Linked DNA regions of Homo sapiens: regions 1, 3 and 4 are each linked to region 2. Evidence: promoter capture Hi-C in 16 types of primary human blood cells and fetal thymus (Javierre and others, 2016). All regions are on one chromosome and are shown on one strand. Each heading gives the region's core, a stretch centred on a gene start or on the middle of the fragment in contact. The rest is flanking DNA. Distances are from core to core; before and after follow the strand shown. Region 1 overlaps KLHL28 (kelch like family member 28). Region 2 holds the start of TRAPPC6B (trafficking protein particle complex subunit 6B). Region 3 overlaps TOGARAM1 (TOG array regulator of axonemal microtubules 1). Region 4 has its middle 3.7 kb from the start of PRPF39-DT.

Region 1 (2,700 bases), core at 35-2,534, 5.8 Mb after region 2:
GGTCTGTATTATGTGACCTTGGGAAATTCAGTCAAAAGTTTCAGTTTTCTCATTTGTAAAAAAATAGACAAAATTGTATAAAAAGCAGTTGTAAATATGCCTTTCTATGTGCTGGTACATAAGCACTCAGTAATTGGTAGACGTTATTTATTTTTACTGTTCATCAACCTTTAAAAAGCTTGGTTATTGCCAACTATATCCATGAAATGCCTTTCCATGCATACCAAAAAAGGAAGGAAGTTTGCTTACTGTCCAGGGAACAAATACCTACCAAAGCCAGGCCAAAGCCTCACTAATTCTATCAGTAAAGAGACATATGAGCCATTTTAAAATATAGATGGCTTATTAGATTTAGATAGTTTATTACTTACAGATTGAAAAGAAGATTAGCCAAAGAGTAAACTGCCTGGATCCTTGTCCCGCACATCAAAAATGGTAACACAAAAAAGGGGCTGGCCCCATGAAAACTATGGCTAAGCAGTTTTCTATTCTGTAGCTCTATTCTAAGGGTGTGGGATGGGGTCAAAAGTCTAACACCTAATCACAACCAGGGAAGTGAAGAGAAACTGTCTCATGACACACTTGTAGGGGAAATAGAGAGGTGAGTGGAAAATTGGGAGATGACCTCATAGCAGCTCCTTAGAGGCCTCTCACTCTCTCATATTCCAGGAGAATCACAAGGTGTGTCAAGCCACGGATAAGCTGCAGTCCTGAGGTCCAAGTCTTTGCCTACATGGATACATGCAAGGTGACCAGAGTACCATGACAAAGTTGTTCCCCTATACTTATGCCCCTATAATACTGCTTTATCTCACTTTCCTAGATCTATGTTGTTAAAACCTTTTAAATATTTTCTGACCATTCCAACTAGTAAGTAAGACATTCTATTCATTTGAACCAGCATGGTTCATTTTACTCCATAATAATAGAAATTATCAAAGTGTTTAAAATGGGCCAAAGAAAAGGCACTGGTAAAAGTAACTTCATAAAAGAAAGCCTAGCATATTTTTATAATTGTATTAGATGCAAATGATATACTTTCATTCCTTGTAAGAACTACTGAGAATAAAGTTTAATTTTAAAAATTATAGTTTGAATGCTTAATCAAAACAGTGTCAACTAGCAACTTCAACAAGGCAAGGTAAAAATAGGGAACTTAAAATGAATTACACTAGCAGTTTTCCATAACATAATTTTTTTGTTTTGTTTTTGTTTTTGTTTTTCAGACAGGTTCTCATTCCTGTTGCCCTGGCCAGGGTGTGGTGGCGAGATCTTAGCTTACTCACTGCAGCCTTGACCTCCTGGGCTCAGGTGATTCTCCCACTTCAGCCTCCCAAGTAGCTGGGGCTACAGGCACACATCACCACGCCCGACTAGTTTTTGTATTTTTTTTGTAGAGAAGGAGTTTCACCATGTTGCCTAGGCTAGTCTCGAACTCCTGGACTCAAACGATCACCCACCCTGGACTCCTAAAGTGTTGGGATTACAGGTGTGAGCCACTGAGCATGACCAAATTAAATCTTAAAATTTTTAATTTGGCCCCTTTCCTCTCTCAAAAAATATGACTTTAGAAAAATGCACAGAATTCTAACATTTTCAAATATAGAGTTTTTAAAACAGTGGTTTTCAAATCTGATCCTTGTACCAACAGCATTAGCAACATTTGGGAACCTGCTAGAAATGTAAATTCTTGAGCCCCATCACAGTTGTAAGCAATCAGAAACTACATAGGGCAGTGGGGTTGCAGGAAATGGGCAAACTGTGTTTTAAGTCCTCCAGGTTATTCTTAGGCAAAAGTTCCAGAACCAGTTAAAATATTTATAGCTCAAGTTTAGCAGCTTAAAAATTACTGAAAATTATTTTTAAGAAATATTTAAAATGAAAGTTTTTTAGAGACAGGATCTCACTATGTTGCCCAGGCTGGAGTGCAATGGCCACTCAAAGGCATGATCATGGCACAATGCAACCTCAAACTCCTAGGCTCAAGTGACCTACTTGCCTCAGCCTCATCAGTAGCTGGGACTACAGGTGTCCACCACTGCGTTTGGCTCAAAAACTATAATGCCTTCAAAATTATACATGGCAACTGTGACTATATTTGGTTCTCAGCTATCTACCCATAAATGGCTAAAAAAAGTAATTCAAAGAAGTAATACTTTCTAATCCTCAAAGCCCCACATTTGTCAAACAGTTTTACACTGGCAGTTTCATTTACCTCAGTAACCACTTTGCGTAAAAGGAAGGGTAAGTACCATAAAAAAAAAAAAAACAAACACAGGAAAGAACAGGGAGTAAAAGCATTAATTTTAGAGTCGGACAGATTTGGATTTAAGTCTACATTTTGCTACTTAATAGCTGGGCTATTTGATACTTGGGCAAATTACTTATTCTAAGCTTAAACATTCTCATTTGTAAAATTTGTTGTGGATTAACAGGATTAAATGAGACGTATGTAAGGAAAAATAGATCAATGGAGAACAGAAAATATAAAAGTAGATCATTTAGATATGCAGGTTTAGTATATGATAAAGGTGGAATCTCTGCGAGGGAAAAGAGAAACGTTTAAATAAATGTGTTGAGATAACGGAATAGCCATATGGAAACAGGTAAAACTAGATTTCTGCTACATACCTACACCAACAGGATAAATTACAAATGAATCAGAGGTATATATATGAAAAATGTAATTATATAAATATT
Region 2 (2,828 bases), core at 127-2,626:
TACACAAAGCTTTCTAACTTCACCTCTCAATTCTTCTCACTCTCTATTCAGTCTAGTCCAAAGAAATGCTTAAGTGTATTTAAATCCACCACTCTTTCATACCTCTACCACTTTATCTTTGCCTAGGATACATTTCCTATCCCCACTCTCCACTCATTTTTTATCAATAGCATTAAAGAAAGGGCTCCTGACTTGAGCATGACTTTGGAGTATTTCTAAAATCCGTTACAACTCCATGATTCTACCAGCCAATACTCAGTGTTAACTATTCATTAAATCACTATTCCCTAAATACTGTGAGGCAGGAGTATTATTTTATTTAATTTATCTAGCAGTGTCAGCAGTGACAGGCCCACAATGATTGAATAAGGACTCCCACATATTAGAAGTAACCGCTACATACTATCACATTTCGGATTAAATTAGATTAAAAAAAAATCTCTACAAGGATGGGGCCATTGTTTCATTCACTACTATATCCCTGGCACCTAGAAATCGCTCTGACATAAGGGCACTAAATAAATACTTTCTGAAATAATTAATTTAAATTATGTTCCCTAATTATCCTAACGCCTGCAAACTTTCCTTTGCAAACTCAACCTTCATTAGGCTTCAGGTCTCAAGTTGTGTGGAGTTGTACTGAGCATTAGGAATGAGGAAGGAGGGACAGGCTTCTCAGGTTGGCACAGGTCTGTCCAGTGCATGGCTCAAGTGCTGGAAGTGCCAGCAAAACTAAGTAGGCTCTGCAGTTAACCCTCTCGTAAATAATGGCAGGGACAACACTAAAAGTACCAAAATCTGTGGCGTGCAAGACAAACGTACGGGAATAGACAAAAGAGAATCAAATAGAAGAAGATACGAAAGAGAAAACGATGAAAGATGACGGTTCAAAGGAGACAACTGACAGGTTCTAGGGTTTAGGACACCTGGAGGTGGACCATTTTGTGTACACCTCGGGAGGCGTCGGGTGGCGATGGGACAGGGGTTGAAGGAAAGCACTGAGGGGAAACAAGGTGTGTCACCGCAAAAGGACCTCAAGGTTGTGTGGCAGCACTCACCACCTCCCCCTGCTCCGCGGACTTGTACACTCCAGACACCATCTCGTTATGGAGAAGCAAAAACAACGCCTCATCCGCCATTTCCTGCTAATTCTTCCAAGCTTCGAGTTTTGGCTCCCGTTTGAGCTGGTCTGGGGGTTCCAGCTCGCGCCTCAGCGACTTCGCCGGCGCCGCGGCTCCGTCAGGCCGCCATTCTATCCCTGTGGCTAAGAGACCGAGGTATTCACACGACTTCCCAAAGGCTGGTACTGAAATGAGTCTGGTACTGGAGAGAGCCCACACTTCGGGGCTACCAAATCCTAGGGCCGAACTAAAGTCTGACGGGAGCTCTAACCAAAGCCAACCAGCTGAGATGCGATCCGGCCGCTGGGCGGGGGCGAAAAAAACAACTTCCGGTCCCCTCTACCCCGGCATTCGGCCAGCTCTATGATCACTGAGTTCCTCTCTCCCAAGCCCGGAGAGGCCAGCGCCCAGATATGAGGAAGGTTCCCCTCTCACCACGATGTCGGGGGCAGAGCAAGATAAAATAAGACCTAAAGCTCCCGCCTGGCCCGGGCGCGGTGGCTCACGCCTGTAATCCCAGCACTTTGGGTGGCGGAGGCGGGTGGATCACATGAGGTCGGAAGTTCGAACCAGCCTGAGAAACCCCGTCTCTACTATAAGTACAAAATTAGCGGGGCCTGGTGGTGCATGCCTGTAATCCCAGCTACTCGGGAGTCTGAGGCAGGAGAATCGCTTGAACTCGGGAGGCGGAGGTTGCGGTGAGCTGAGATCGCGCCACTGCACTCCAGCCTGGGCAACAAGAGTGAAACTCCGTCTCAAAAAAAAAAAAAAAAAAAGAGCTCCCGCGGCCACCTCCTTGTTAATTAGCAATAGAAGTTAAAAAAATTCTTTTGGCTTCATCAAAAGCATCCACTTCCTGCCATATGTTCTTCAAATATGAAAAGTTGTAGAAAGAGTTTAAAATATACGTTTTCACAGTGCAAATTTTTTAAATATTGAAAAGTTATCCCAATTCCTATTGAATTAAGCCCGGGTATACAAAAAGAATTAGAGCCATTTTGACCACCAGGAATTTTCCTGTTAGTGGGGTGCAAGGGACAAGGGAAGTGGAGCAAACGAAAAACAAGATACACTTGAACCGGAAAATACAGACTAATCAGAGGATTAGGTGAAAAGTGCTATAGAATTCAGAAAAGCGATGTCACTGCAGGATGGAGTTGCTAATAATCTACAGCAGTGTGAGACAACTGTAGGAATTGTCCCACTGCATGTGCAAATAAATACACATGCTACATCATAGTATGTACATCTTAAATTTGGCAAATTCAACCGTAAGCATGTTGCTTAGCCTGTGATTAGTTCTTCCATTGGTAATTCACAAAACAAAATTTTTCCCCAATTGTCCCTGTTGTTTTCCCCCAAATTAACATACCGCAAGGTGGCTCATGCCTGTAAAATCCAGCACTTTGGGAGGCCGAGGCACGGGGGGTGGGGGGGATCACGAGGTCATGAGTTTTGAGAGCAGCCTGGCCAACATGGTGAAAACCCGTCTCCACTAAAAATACAAAAATTAGCCGGGCGTGGTGACAGGTGCCTGTAATCCCAGCTACTCGGGGGGCTGAGGCAGGAGAATCACTTGAACCTGGGAGGCAGAGGTTGCAGCGAGCAGAAATTGTGCCACTGCACTCCAGCCTGGGCGACAGAGCAAGACTTCGTCTCAAAAAACGAAACACACACACAAACTCTTCATGCCCTTTCACAGGAATT
Region 3 (2,700 bases), core at 161-2,660, 5.8 Mb after region 2:
TAACTTTCTCAGAGCAGAAGTTTTAAAGTTTTAATAAAGTCCAGTTAATCAGTTTTTTCTTGCATGGATCATGCCTTTGGTATCATATCTAAAAAGTCATCACCATACCCAAGGTCATCTAGGTTTTCTCCTATGTTATCTTCTAGGCATTTTATAGTTTTACAATTTACATTTAAGTCTATGATCCATTTGGAGTTAATTTTTATGAAGGGTGTCAGGTCTGTTTCTAGATTCATTTTTTTTTACATGTGCATGTTCAGTTGTTGCAGCACCATTTGTTGACAACACTGTCTTTACTCCATTGCCTTTACTTCTTTGTCAAAGATCAGCTGACTGTATTCATGTGGGTCTTTTTCTGGGCTCTTTACTCTGCTCCATTAGTGTGCCTATTTTTGCCCATAACACATTGTCTTGATTACTGTAGCTTTATAGTAAATCTTGAAGTTCCGTAGTGTCAGTCTTCTGACTTTGTTGTTTTCCTTCCATGTTGAGTTCACTCTTCTGGGTTTTTTGCCTCTCTGTATAAACTTTAGAATCAGTTTGTTGATGTCCAAAAAATAAGTTGCTGAGAGTTTGATTGGGATTGCATTGAATCTATAGATCAAGTTGAGAAAAACTAACAGCTTGACAATATTGAGTCTTCCTATCCACAAACATGGATTATCTCTTCATTTATTTAGCTCTTCTTTGATATCTTGCATTGGAGTTCTATACTTTCCTCATATAGATACTGTACATATTTTGCTAAATTTAGATTGAAATATCCTACTTCTGTATGTTAATGTAAATGGTAATTTTTTTTAAATTTCAAATTCCACTTGTTCATTGCTGGTATAGAGGAAAATGCTTGACTTTTGCACATTAACTTTGTGTCCTGCAAGCTTGCTATAATATAATCATTTATTATTCGCAGGAGGATTTTTTTTGTTAATTCTTTGAGACTTTCTATGCAGACAATCATGTCATCTGTGAACAAAGACAATTTTATTTCTTCCCAATCTGTATACTTTTTATTCCTTTTCTTGTCTTATTGCATTAGTTTGAACTTCCAATATGATATTGAAAAGCAGTGATGAGAGAGGACATCCTTGCCTTGTTTCTAATCTTAGTGGGAAAGTTTTGAGTTTCTCATAAATATGATGTTATCTGTATGCTTTCTTGTAGTGTTCGCTATAAAGTTGAGAAAGTTCCCCCTGTATTCCTAGTTTGCTGAGAGTTTTCATCATATATGGATATTAGATTTTGTCTAATGCTTTTTTGCATCTATTGATATAATTATGTGATTTTTCTTCTTAAACCTGATGATGTGATGGGTTATATTAATTGATTTTCAAATGTTGAGCCAGCCTTGCATACCTGGGATAAATTCCACTTGGTTGTGGTGTGTTATTCATTTTGTATATTGTTGGATTCAATTTACTAATATTTTGTTGAGGATTTTCACATGTTTGTTCATAGGTGATATTGGTCTGTGGGGTTTTTGTTTTGTTTTGTTTTTGTTTTTTTTCTTATAAGGTCTTTGCTGGTTTTGGTATTAGGGTAGTGCTGGCCTTTTAGAATGAGTCAGAAAGTATTCTCCCTGCTTCTATATTCTGAAGGTAATTGCAGAGAATTGGTATAATTTTTTCTTTAAATGTTCAGTGGAATCCACCAGTAAACCCATCTGACTCTGGTGCTTTCTGTTTTGGAAGGTTATTAATTATTCAGTTTCTTTACAGATACAGGCCTAGTCAGATTATCCATATCTTCTTGTGTGTGTTTTTACACATTGTGTCTTTCAAGGAATTGATCCATTTTATCTAGGTTACCCAATTTATAAGCATAGAGTTGTTAATAGTATTCCTTTATTATCCTTTTAATGTTTATGTGATTTGTAGTGATAGTCTGTCTTTCATTTCTGATATTAGTAATTTGTTTCTCTGTTTTTCTTAGCCTGACCAGAAGCTTATCAATTTTATTGATCTTTTCCAAGAACCCGAGTTTGTTTTTGTTGATTTTCTGTTGATTTCCTTTTTTCAGTTTCACTGATTTCTATGCAAATTTTTTATTTTTTATTTTTCTCCTGCTCACTTTGGATTTAATTTGCTCTTCCTTTGTTAGTTTCCTAGGATGTGCACTTAGATGATCGATTTTAGATCTTTCTTCTTTTCTAATATATGCCTTCAGTGCCATAAATTTCCTCTAGGCACCGCTTTCACTGCATACCGCAAATCTTGATACATTGTATTTTCATTTATTTCAAAATATTTAAAAATTTCACTTGAGATTTCTTTGACTTGTATGTAACTTAGAAGTGTATTTAGTCTACAAGTATGTTGGGGTTTTCCATCTGTATTCTGTTCTCACATTGCTGTAAAGAACTGAGACAAGGTAATTTATAAAGAAAAGAGACTTCATTGACTCATAGTTCCTCATGGCTGGGTAGACCTCGGAAATTTACAATTATGGCAGAAAGTGAAGAGGAAGGAGTCACGTCTTACATGGCCGGAGAAGGAGGAAGAGAGGGCAGGAGGAGATGCTACACACTTTTAAACAACCAGATCTCTTGATAACTCACTATTATGAGAACAGGAAAGGGGATATCCAACCCCATGATCCAGTCATCCCCCAGCAACCCCTCTTTCAACATTGAGGATTACAATTTGAAATGAGATTTGGGACAGGATACAAACCCAAACCATATCACCATCTTAATTTGGC
Region 4 (2,727 bases), core at 202-2,701, 5.9 Mb after region 2:
GAAAGAAGGCCCTTCCTATGTACTTCTACCTACATCTCATTGGCCACCCTTAGGTTCAAAGGAGGCTAGGAAATTGAGTATTTCGTTTCCCAGTCTCAATAGTACAGGAAGATAATAGAGAAGATAGTGGGCATGGATATTTCTAAGCTGACCTACAACATCTGCCATATTCCATAAGCCCCACTCTGATGAAACACAGTGGCATTCTATGCCCCAGGAATTGGTATTAATTCAGGTCCAATGTTTAATAAATTCCAAGAAGCCAGCATGTTTTCTGTTTCCTGGTGTGAAGTTACCCTAATAAGTAGCCATAAGTCTCTGAGGGAATAAGAGGAATGTGCAGAGTGGTATTACTATGGCGCTCTTCTTTAAGGTTATCCGGAAACAGGAGTAACAATGATAACTCTCAGGAAGACTGAATTGAGGAGATATTAATACCATTTGAACTAAATATGAAAGACCAAATAGTAAAGAGGAAACAAGCTTCATGTTGTGTTTGGATTTAAATCTCCTGGAGCTACAGTTTTAACTTTACTTGCTTTACCAGTAAGGAGAAACACTAAATACAGGAGTCTGAATGTTTCCAACAGAAGAGTCACCACAATTTATTTAGTGATGGATTATTTATAATGTAAACAAAGTTCATTCCCTAGAGCAATATATTCTGTAAATTAAATGATCCACAAAGTATTTTACGCACTTTTTCATGGCATGTTAACGTTTTGAAGAGAATAAACAGGAATCATACTGAACAGCTCAGAAATTGTGATTAACACTGGGTATCACAAGATACATTTTGCTCTTATATCAATCAGGACCCAGAAGGAAATAGACAGCAAATCAAAATCGGCATAATTTGGGAAGTGGTTAATAAGGGAGTATTTATAAAGGCATGGCTTAGGGAAACCTGGAACCTAGAATGAAGTTATATTGAGAGGGTTACCTTCATCAGAGCTGAGATCACCCACATGGAGGGAGCTGGAGGAATAAATACCCTGACCTCACTCCTCAATTCCACTCTGCCAGGACTTTTTCTTGGCCATACTCAACCAGAAACCAGGAAGCAAGAGAACCTATTGATACGGTCTATAAGGGTCAATCTCCAAATAATGGAGCAGGGTGGATGATCTGTTGATCTGGAGGGGCAAATGGAAGAACTGCATTAATAAATAATATCATTTCCCATTTGTCTGACTTCTTTGTTCTGTTTCTGAGATCACATGACTTTAAATATTGTTTTTTAGAACCCACTGAGAGGTGACAGCGTGCTGGCAGTCCTCACAGCCCTCGCTCGCTCTCGGCGCCTCCTCTGCCTGGGCTCCCACTTTGGCGGCACTTGAGGAGCCCTTCAGCCCACCGCTGCACTGTGGGAGCCCCTTTCTGGACTGGCCAAGGCCGGAGCCGGCTCTCTCAGCTTGCAGGGAGGTGCAGAGGGAGAGGAGCCAGCGGGAAGCGGGGCTGCGCCCGGCGCTTGCGGGCCAGCTGGAGTTCCGGGTGGGCGTGGGCTTGGCGGGCCCCGCACTCGGAGCAGCCGACCGGCCCTGCCGGCCCCGGGCAATGAGGGGCTTAGCACCTGGGCCAGCGGCTGCGGAGGGTGTACTGGGTTCCCCAGCAGTGCCAGCCCACCGGCGCTGCGCTCGATTTCTCGCCGGGCCTTAGCTGCCTTCCCTCGGGGCAGGGCTCAGGACCTGCAGCCCGCCATGCCTGAGCCTCCCACCCCCTTCCTGGGCTCCTGTGCGGCCGAGCCTCCCAGATGAGCGACGCCCCCTGCTCCACGGCGCCCAGTCCCATCGACCACCCGTCGGCTGAGGAGTGCGGGCGCAGGGCGCGGGACTGGCGGGCAGCTCCACCTGCAGCCCCAGAGCGGGATCCACTGGGTGAAGCCAGCTGGGCTCCTGAGTCTGGTGGGAACTTGGAGAACCTTTATGTCTAGCTCAGGGATTGTAAATACACCAATCAGCACTCTGTGTCTAGCTCAGGGTTTGTGAATGCACCAATCGACACTCTGTATCTAGCTACTCTGGTGGGGCCTTGGAGAACCTTTATGTCTAGCTCAGGGATTGTAAATACACCAATCGGCACTCTGTATCTAGCTCAAGGTTTGTAAACACACCAATCAGCACCCTGTGTCTAACTCAGGGTTTGTGAATGCACCAGTCGACACTCTGTATCTAGCTACTCTGGTGGGGACTTGGAGAAGAACCTTTGTGTCCACACTCTGTATCTCGCTAATCTAGTGGGGAGGTGGAGAACCTTTGTGTCTAGCTCAGGGATTGTAAACACACCAATAAGTGCCCTGTCAAAACAGACCACTTGGCTCTACCAATCAGCAGGATGTGGGTGTGGCCAGATAAGAGAATAAAAAGCAGGTCGCCTGGGCCAGTAGTGGCAACCTGATTGGGTCCCCTTCCACACTGTGGAAGCTTTGTTCTTTTGCTCTTTGCAATAAATCTTGCTACTGCTCACTCTTTGGGTCCACACTGCTTTTATGAGCTGTAATACTCACTGCAAAGGTGTGCAGCCTCACTCCTGAAGCCAGCGAGACCACGGGCCCACCGGGAGGAATGAACAAGTCCAGACACGCCACCTTAAGAGCTGCAACACTCACCGCGAGGGTCCGCGGCTTCATTCTTGAAGTCAGTGAGACCAAGAACCCACCAATTCTGGACACACCACTACCCTCTAAACTACATTATTTGGTATAATATCTTTTTTCTTCCCAAAGTT

Evidence for each region. The method cuts DNA at HindIII sites, captures the fragments that hold promoters and counts their contacts. A CHiCAGO score of 5 or more calls a contact.
Region 1: a contact is called between a fragment that was not itself captured here and the fragment with the promoter of TRAPPC6B in region 2, in 7 of 17 cell types (total CD8 T cells, non-activated CD4 T cells, total B cells and 4 more). The highest score is 13.1, in total CD8 T cells.
Region 3: a contact is called between a fragment that was not itself captured here and the fragment with the promoter of TRAPPC6B in region 2, in 4 of 17 cell types (M0 macrophages, non-activated CD4 T cells, total B cells and 1 more). The highest score is 12.7, in M0 macrophages.
Region 4: a fragment that was not itself captured here is called in contact with the fragment with the promoter of TRAPPC6B in region 2 in 1 of 17 cell types (non-activated CD4 T cells); the score reaches 5.0 in non-activated CD4 T cells.

What each region holds. Positions count from the first base shown.
Region 1 is chr14:44,950,649-44,953,348 of GRCh38, forward strand. The region is part of intron 1 of KLHL28 (kelch like family member 28); the gene reads right to left. Among named protein-coding and RNA genes, the nearest start is that of KLHL28, 9.9 kb to the right of the region's middle. The HindIII fragment of the contact is 2,216 bases long and covers 177-2,392 here.
Region 2 is chr14:39,168,957-39,171,784 of GRCh38, forward strand. TRAPPC6B (trafficking protein particle complex subunit 6B) reads right to left here and starts at 1,377. Exons shown (of 6, transcript NM_001079537.2): 1 at 1,059-1,377. The coding sequence starts at 1,139. RefSeq lists enhancers at 835-1,424, 1,184-1,233, 2,015-2,604. The HindIII fragment of the contact is 6,900 bases long and covers 1,158-2,828 here.
Region 3 is chr14:44,969,518-44,972,217 of GRCh38, forward strand. The region is part of intron 1 of TOGARAM1 (TOG array regulator of axonemal microtubules 1); the gene reads left to right. Among named protein-coding and RNA genes, the nearest start is that of TOGARAM1, 8.7 kb to the left of the region's middle. The HindIII fragment of the contact is 1,063 bases long and covers 880-1,942 here.
Region 4 is chr14:45,079,003-45,081,729 of GRCh38, forward strand. No RefSeq gene overlaps it. Among named protein-coding and RNA genes, the nearest start is that of PRPF39-DT, 3.7 kb to the right of the region's middle. The HindIII fragment of the contact is 1,940 bases long and covers 482-2,421 here.